3 separate regions of the Homo sapiens genome follow, and all the other regions are linked to region 3. The links are contacts of gene promoters, found by promoter capture Hi-C in human tissues and cell types (Jung and others, 2019). All regions are on one chromosome and are shown on one strand. The core of a region is centred on a gene start or on the middle of the fragment in contact, and the rest is flanking DNA. Distances in the headings are between cores, read along the strand shown.

Region 1 (2,756 bases), core at 1-2,500, 800 kb before region 3:
GAAGCAGGGTCAAAGCAAGCCCTGACAAGGGGAAGGCTGTCCCCCTTAGCCTTTGGGGCAGGGGTGGCAGCAGCAACACATTCCTCGTGACTCAGCAGCCCGGTGGCACTAAGGGGAAAGATGGACTTCTCCCAACCCAGGGGAGGCTGAGACCCTCCGAGCTGGGGTTCCAGGGACACGCGTCACCTCTTCCCAGAGACCCCTCAGGAGGGAAATAAAGAGGTTTCTCTCCGTCCTCCACCAATTTATTTGCCCATCCGCAGGAGGTGACAGCTCCTGTGGTGTCTGACCACCCCCAACTCCGAAGTCCAGACAAGCTGTCCGCCCAGAATATGAGGCTGACTTGGGCACACTAGGGGAATACCCCAAAGGCCTGAAGGAGGTGCCACTGGGCTGCCAGCACTTCAGGAAGGCACAGGGCCCCACACCCCCGAGATCCAAGCTGCACTGGCTGGCAGGGGGCAGGGCGGGGGGTGGCGAGGACACAGTCCCGTGTGTCCCAGCACCGGTGCCACCCTCCTAAGCCCCGGGCAGGCAGTACGTACATGCGGACCCCGCCTCTCAAAGCACGTTTATGGAAATGAACAGGGTGGGGTGGCCCGCGCTCGCCGGTCACATGTTGGCTCGTTCCCGCTGCAGCCGCGAGTTGTAGGCGCGAGACACGGTGTTCCAGGCGTCCATGTAGCGGTCCATGCACATGGCGATGCACTTCTGCGGGAGCGGAGGGGCGCACGGCTCAGCTCGGGACTTCGCGGCCCCGGGGACCGCCCTGACCCCGGCTCCAGGACGCCCGGGCTGCAGACTACGCACGTGCAGTGACCACTCCGTCGCACCTCCCCGTTAGTCTGCGCACGCGCAGACACCTCCCCCCTCGAATCTAGGCCCTCGCGACCCTTGCCCCGAACCTCCGCGGGTCTCACCTGCTCGGAGTTGTCCAGGGAGCCCCCAGGTTTCCCTATACACTTCCGGAAACACTTGTCCGTCATCCTCTGTGGAGACACGCGAGGCTTTAGCCGCGACGTCGGCCCCCAGGGGTGGCCCTGTCGCCCCCAGCGCCCGTCCCCGGCCAGCCCCGCACCTGCAGCAGCTCCTGCGCGTTGGCCACGGCGATCTGCACTTTCACCTGCTCCATTATGAGCCCTGGGTCCAGCTTCCCGCTGCCGGAGCCCCCGAAATCGGAGCCGAAGCCGCCCTCCATGGCTCCGCAAAGTCAACCGGACCGAGGCCGCGTGCGCCGACTCGTAACTAACTGCGCCGGAAGCGGGCCGCCCGGGGCACCACGGGAAACGGAGTCCGCGCGGACGGGGACGGAGGACTACAACTCCCACACGACCGCGCGCGCCCGGGCCATTCAAGGTCGCGCGGGGGGCCCTCCGCTCATGCGGAGGCCTGGACCTGCCGTTACCTACACGAGCTACCCGTGGTTGCGACTCCGCGGGAAGAGGGAGGCCCTGACTTGGCCGGGGAGTAGGGGGGCTACTACGTGCGGCCGAGGCCGATCACTTTGTACTCACGCTCTGCCTCCAGCTCGTCCCGAAGGGCCTGCCGCGCATGCGCACGAGGCACCCGGCGCGTCTATACAGCGTGTTGCCGCCGGGGCGGAGCCCGGTCGCATCACGTGACGAAGAGTCAGCTTGTGCAACAGCGTCGGAGGCTCACTAGAAAAAAAAGGGCAGGGTCCCATGCATCGCCTGGGTCCTGTTTACACTAGCTACACTAGCCAGTGACCTTTTTCCTTGGGGGTGGAGGGATCTTTCTTAGACATCCGCTTCATTAGGGCAGAGGCCCCGGCTCGAGCTTCCCCTCAGGAATAAACTCAGAGGCAGAACCTAAAATCAAAATGTTTATTGGAGTGTTGTACAAAAAAGTTTCCAGTCATAAAATGTATATTACAAATCATTGGAAAAAAAAAAGAACACATTAGGCATGCATCTTCTTAAAAACCGAATCTCTGAAATGAAAGTCCATGCCAGCCCCAGCTGCAGCCCAGCTCCGTTTTTGCAGGTTGTGCTGTGACGCTCGCTGGACGCAGGGCTTGGAAGAGGCTGCAGGCGGCGACGCCCCAGGACTGAGGAGTCCCTCAGATCTTTAACAAAGAACTGCCGCGTGCAGGCTTCAGACCAACCCCAGCCAAAGCCGCTGGCATGAGGACAGGTGCATGATCGGATTCTGGGTCAGCCCGCAGGCCTCCCGGCTCCTGGGCTCAGCGGGGCAGGCTTCAGCGTTAACCTGGCGCTGTGCACCCCAGAACCCGCGTTGGTCCAGCAGGCGTGGGCCTCCCCCCAGGGCTGGGTGGCGTCTGATGCTTCGCAGGGAGGGCGCTAGGCTTCGAGTCACACGGCACGGGCTTACACAGAGGGATGGTTTCGCATCGTTCTAAGCGGCACACAGCTAAGCGTATTTGGGGACAAATGCAAATTGTTTCCCAGGCCATAAATAACTTTTAAAAATTTGATTTTCTTAGTGTTTCCAAAGACTCAATTCTCAATGAACCTCCAATTACCCACAGGCTGCCCAGTCCACGCTTCTCCCCACCCCCTTCAGCTAAGGGCACCCGCAGTCCTAGGACCACCCCCAGCTCCACCCAAGGCAAATGTAGGGTGGGGGGTTCTGTGGGCCTGGGGCGTGCTGTTTTCAGGACAGGACTGGGCAGCGTCTGGACATGAGGACCTGCGGGTTTTGGGGGGGACTTTGTCCCTGAGCCCAGCCTGCAAGGCTGTCGGCAAATCACAGACCAACTCCAGGATACAGCTTTG
Region 2 (2,700 bases), core at 59-2,558, 540 kb before region 3:
ATTAGCCAGGCATGGTGGCCCATGCCTGTAATCCCAGCTAGTTGGGAGGTTGAGGTAGGAGAATCGCTTGAGCCCGGGAGGCAGAGGTTGCGGTGAGCCGAGATCGCACCATTGCACTCCAGCCTGGGCAACAAGAGTGAAACTCCATCTCAAAAAACAAACAAACAAAAAAAAGTGCTGGCATGACAGGAGTAAGCCACCAGCCTGGCCAAGAAGTTTAAATCATGATGCCGGGCGCGGTGGCTCACGCCTGTAATTCCAGCACTTTGGGAGGCCGAGGCAGGCAGATCACATGGTCAGGAGTTCGAGACCAGCCTGGCCAACACGGCGAAACCCCATCTCTACTAAAAATACAAAAAATTAGCCGGGCAAGGTGGCACGCACCTGTAATCCCAACTATTTGGGAGGCTGAGGCAGGAGAATCAGTTGAACCTGAGTGAGCTGAGATCGTGCCACTGTACTCCAACCTGGGCAACAAGAACAAAACTCTGCCTCCAGATAAAATAGCCGGGCGCGGTGGCTCACGCCTGTAATCCCAGCACTTTGGGAGGCCGAGCTGGGCAGATCACAAGGTCAGGAGATCGAGACTATCCTGGCTAACACGGTGAAACCCCGTCCCTACTAAAAATAACAAAAAATTAGCCGGGCATGGTGGCGGGTGCCTGTAGTCCCAGTTACTCGGGAGGCTGAGGCAGGAGAATGGTGTAAACCCAGGAGGTGGAGCTTGCAGTGAGCCAAGATCGCGCCACTGCACTCCAGCCTGGGCGACAGAGCGAGACTCCGTCTCAACAAAAGAAAAAAGAAATCATGATGCAAAGATGAAAAGCAAAGTTTGCCGTACGAAGGATGGAGTCGGTGTCAGTGCTCTGGGGAAGTGGGGAGTTCCCTCAGCAAGAATGACCTCAGAGTAGCTGGTAGGTGGGCTAAGGCCACCTGGGCTGGGAGAACCAGGTTAACAGCACCAGTAGGAAGTCACCAGGGTCTCAAGGATCCCCAGCAGGGAGAGAGCAACAGGGCACCTCACCCCTACGTGTTCTTTCCCGAAACCCGTAACCCCGGTCTGATCACGAGAGAAATATCTGACAAACCTAGATCAGAAGTAAGTCTGCACAATACCCAGCCGGTCCCCCTAAGACCGTCCAGGTCACGAGAGGTAACGAACATCTAAGACATGGTCCCAACCTGGAAGAACCCCCGGAGACGAGCCGGCTAAATGTCACGTGGGATTCTAGATGGGTCCTGGGGCAGGAAAGGACATTAGGGGAAGATTAATGACATTTGAATAAAGTGTGGAGTTGAGAGAAATGAACCCATTGTTAGCCGGGCACAGTGGCTCCCGTCTGTCCTCCTAACACTTTGGGAGTCCGGGGTGGCAGGATCACTTGTGTTCAGGAGTTCGAGACCAGCCTAGGCAAAATAGCGAGACCTCATCTCTACAATAAAACAAAAATTAGCCAGGCACGGGGTTGCGTGCCTGTGGTCCCAGCTACTCAGGAGGCTGAGGTGGGAGGATCGCTTGAGCCCAGGAGTTGGAGGCTACAGTGAGCCATGATCACTCCACTGCACTTAGCCTGGGCGACAGAGTAAGACTCTGTCTCAAAAAAAAATGTAAATGTAAATTTAAAAAATATTACTTTTAATGGCAAAGACCACAATTATGTTTGCCCCAACATAATAAATACATACAATAAATAAATAAATAAGAAAAAAATAAACAAAAATAAAAATAATGCAAAAAAAAAGGGGGAAAAAAATGCCAATCATACTATGCATGGCACCGTGTTATAGGGGAAAAAAAATAATTATATAAAATTGTTCCCAAATCATTAAGCCCTTCTCATTATGGAGGCTACAGGAATAAACGCTCCTAACAAGACCACATTTGGGCCGGGCTCGGTGGGCCTCCCAGCACTTTGGGAGGCCAAGGCGGGTGGATCACCTGAGGTCAGAAGTTCGAGACCAGCCTGGCCATCATGGTGAAACCCCGTCTCTACTAAAAATACAAAAAATAGCCGGGTGTGGTGGTGGACGCCTGTAATCCCAGCTACTCAGGAGGCTAAGGCAGGAGGATCACTTGAACCTGGGAGGCGGAGGCTGCAGTGAGCTGAGATGGCGCCATTGCACTCCAGCCTGGGCTACAGAGTGAGACTCCAACTCAAAAAAAAAAAAAAAAAAAAAAAAAAACCATATTCGATGCAATTCTCTGAAGTTAACTGTTAGAGCTCTGACAACACAGAGGCTGAAATGACATGACAAATGCTAAAGTACAAAGTTCCAAGATCAAGTCCCAGCATGACCACTAACTCGTGAAACCTCCAGACCTCAGTTTTCCCATGCATAAAGCGTGCGAGATGGACTCGAGGGCCAACACGCTTTTTCGGTAAGAGTCCAGATACCCAGTGTTTTCAGCCTTGCGGTGGAGCCACTCTCTACGGCAACGACTTAACTACACCATGGTAGCAGAATACACAGAGCAGTGTGCCAATAAAACATTATTTCTGGACACTAAAATCTGAATGCCATATAATTGTCATGTGTCATGGCCTTTTCTTTGACTTTTGTTTTTTGCTTCTTTTGGCGGCGGGTAGAAGCAGGGCTTCCTTTGACTTTTTTTTCCAACCATTTAAAAATGGAGGCCGGGCACGGTGGCTCACGTCTGTAATCCCAGCACTTTGGGAGGCCGAAGCGAAAGGATCACTT
Region 3 (2,700 bases), core at 106-2,605:
GCAATCTCGGCTCACTGCAATCTCCGCCTCCCGGGTTCAAGCGATTTTCCTGCCTCAGCCTCCTGAGTAGCTGGGATTACAGGCATGCACAACCATGCCTGGCTAATTTTTGTGTTTTTAGTAGAGACAGAGTTTTCTCCATGTTGATCAGGCTGGTCTCGAACTCCTGATCTCAGGTGATCCACCTGCCTCAGCCTCCCAAAGTGCTGGGATTACAGGTGTGAGCCATCGTGCCTGGCCTGTTTTCTTATTTTTTACAGCAATGGCGTCTCACTATGTTGCTCAGGCTGGTCTCCAACTCCTGGGCTCAAGTGGTCCTCCTGACTCTGCTTCTCAAAGTGCTGGGATTACAGGTGTGAGCCACCACGGCCAGCACGTATTATTATTTTTATTAATATTATTGATGAGTTTCATACGTAAAGGATCACGGGCACTTTAGAGCTGGGAGATACTTCAGTATTTCTCCTATCCTGTCATTATCAGTGCGAGCCAGTCTCCCTCCTTGTTGATGACATTATTGATGAGTTACATACTTAAAGGGCCAAGGACACTTTCTATGTGTAAGCACCCTATAGAACTGGAAGATACTTTTACCATTTCTCCTGTGCTGTCGTGATTAGTGGGAGCACTTTGTCTTGCTCTTGATTAATTATTATTAGTGTTGTTATTATTAGGTGTTTTTTTTTTTTTTTTTTACCAAGACGGAGTTTTGCTCTTGTTGCCCAGGCTGGAGTACAATGGCACAATCTTGGCTCACTGCAACCTCCGCCTCCTGGGTTCAAGTGATTATCCTGCCTCAGCCTCCCGAGTAGCTGGGATTACAGGCACCCCCCGCCACCGAGCCCAGCTAATTTTTGTATTCTTTAGTAGAGACGGGGTTTCACCGTGTTAGCCAGTCTGGTCTCGAACTCCTGACCTCAAGTGATCCACCCACCTCGGCCTCCCAAAGTGCTGAGATGACAGGCGTGAGCCACCGCGCCCAGCCATATTATTAGTGTTATTAATATTATTGATGAGTTACCTACTTTAAGGATCACGGGCGCTTTCAACGACAAGCCCCCTACATTATCCCAGCAACTTTTGACATTCTTCCGGCCGATGCCCTCCGCGGGAGCCGGCGGGGACCCCTGGGAAGCCGGCTAAGGCCCGTCCCGCCCGCAGCTCCGCCCTCGCCCACCCGTAGGCGGGGCCCGGGGCCTTCCGGCCTCAGTTTCCCCCCGCGGCCCGGGGATGCGGGGAGGCGCCGGCTGCCCCGCGCGGCGCGGCCGCCAGGGGCCGCTGCGGAGCCGCCTTTGTGGTCCCGATGCCGGGGCGGGCGCGGGCGGGAGGAGGGCGCGGGGGCCCGGGAGGGAGGCGGGAGGCGCGGCCGCCGCTCCAGCTGCGAGTCCGCCCGCCGCCCGCCGCCGCCGCCGCCGGCTCGGTCCCGCGCCCGCCATGGCCCGCCTGACGGAGAGCGAGGCGCGCCGGCAGCAGCAGCAGCTCCTGCAGCCGCGGCCCTCGCCCGTGGGCAGCAGCGGGCCCGAGCCCCCCGGGGGGCAGCCCGACGGCATGAAGGACCTGGACGCCATCAAACTCTTCGTGGGCCAGATCCCGCGGCACCTGGACGAGAAGGACCTCAAGCCGCTCTTCGAGCAGTTCGGCCGCATCTACGAGCTCACGGTGCTCAAAGACCCCTACACGGGGATGCACAAAGGTGGGCGCCCGGCCCCCTCCCCCCTCTCCCCCTCCCTCCGCCTCCCACCCCACCTTCCGGCATCTTCTCTCCCCCATCACCATCCCTCCTCTGCTCACCTCCCTCCTCTGCCTGCCTCTGCCGGAGCATCGGTTCTTACCCCCTCCCTCCCACCCACCCCTCCTCCCCTCTCTGGGGGTGCAGCTGACAGATCCGAGCGGGCCCCCTCCCCTCCTCCGCCCCCTCTCCCTCCCTCCCCACCTTCCGGCATCTCCTCTCTCTCTCCCTCTCTCTCTCCCTCTCTCTCTCCCTTTCTCTTCTCTCCCATCTCCCTCGACCTCTCATCCTTCCCCCCACAGCACCCTCTCTCTCCCTCCCTCCCTCCCTCACCCTTCCATCCCCCAGACCCCCACCCCTTCCTCCCTCCCTCACCCCACTCTTTCCTGCCCGTTTGCCAGGGGAGCCTCGGGAACGCCGGCACCCCTCCCTGCCCCCCCACCCCCATTCATTCAGCCTCCCCAGGCCCCGTCGGGGAAGTTTGCACCTGCGGACTCCATTGCTTTGGTTATTTTCACAAAGCCAGGCCGGCGGGGCAGGTCCGGCCGCGGGGGACACGGATGCCCAGGACCCCAGGCTAATCGGTAACTACAAAGGAAGACGGGTTGGGGGCGCCCGGCTCGGGGGGACGCGCCCGCCTCGCCTGCCTCGGGTGGCGGAGAGGCTCCCGTCGCTGCCCACCCCCTGGCCCCACCACCTCCGCGTGGATCAGCATTCTCTCCTCCATTTCTCTGCCCTCCCCCTCCCCCGCCTCCACCTTGGGCTCAAGTTGAAACTGGCCGAGCCTCTTAGCAATGTGTTGGGGTCTCAGGCCCAAGACAATGAGCTTGGACGTGTCCATCTGGGCAGAGCCCAAATTCTGGGGTGGACAGGGAGGAGGAGGGAGGCGTGGGCGGCCTCAGGCCTGTCTGCCTCCCTCCCACTGGATTCTCCCTCCGATGGCATCCCGGGTGGGGGTGTCCGGCAATTGT

The links. Contacts are between HindIII fragments. The study calls those that stand out against the background at their distance.
Region 1: the fragment with the promoter of TIMM13 here is called in contact with the fragment with the promoter of CELF5 in region 3 in 2 of the 25 tissues and cell types used here (dorsolateral prefrontal cortex and stomach).
Region 2: a contact is called between a fragment that was not itself captured here and the fragment with the promoter of CELF5 in region 3, in 2 of the 25 tissues and cell types used here (small bowel and stomach).

The regions. Positions count from the first base shown.
Region 1 is chr19:2,426,336-2,429,091 of GRCh38, forward strand. TIMM13 (translocase of inner mitochondrial membrane 13) reads right to left here and starts at 1,251. Exons shown (of 3, transcript NM_012458.4): 1 at 1,079-1,251; 2 at 921-989; 3 at 1-711. The coding sequence starts at 1,198. The coding sequence ends at 613. LMNB2 (lamin B2) reads right to left here. Exons shown (of 12, transcript NM_032737.4): 12 at 1,831-2,756. RefSeq lists enhancers at 1-741, 742-1,487, 1,572-1,721 and a silencer at 932-1,021. The HindIII fragment of the contact is 21,330 bases long and covers 1-2,756 here.
Region 2 is chr19:2,687,466-2,690,165 of GRCh38, forward strand. The region is part of intron 1 of GNG7 (G protein subunit gamma 7); the gene reads right to left. Among named protein-coding and RNA genes, the nearest start is that of GNG7, 14 kb to the right of the region's middle. The HindIII fragment of the contact is 8,454 bases long and covers 1-2,700 here.
Region 3 is chr19:3,223,306-3,226,005 of GRCh38, forward strand. It overlaps CELF5 (CUGBP Elav-like family member 5), which reads left to right and starts at 1,356. Exons shown (of 13, transcript NM_021938.4): 1 at 1,356-1,693. The coding sequence starts at 1,435. RefSeq lists a silencer at 1,177-1,296. The HindIII fragment of the contact is 19,492 bases long and covers 1-2,700 here.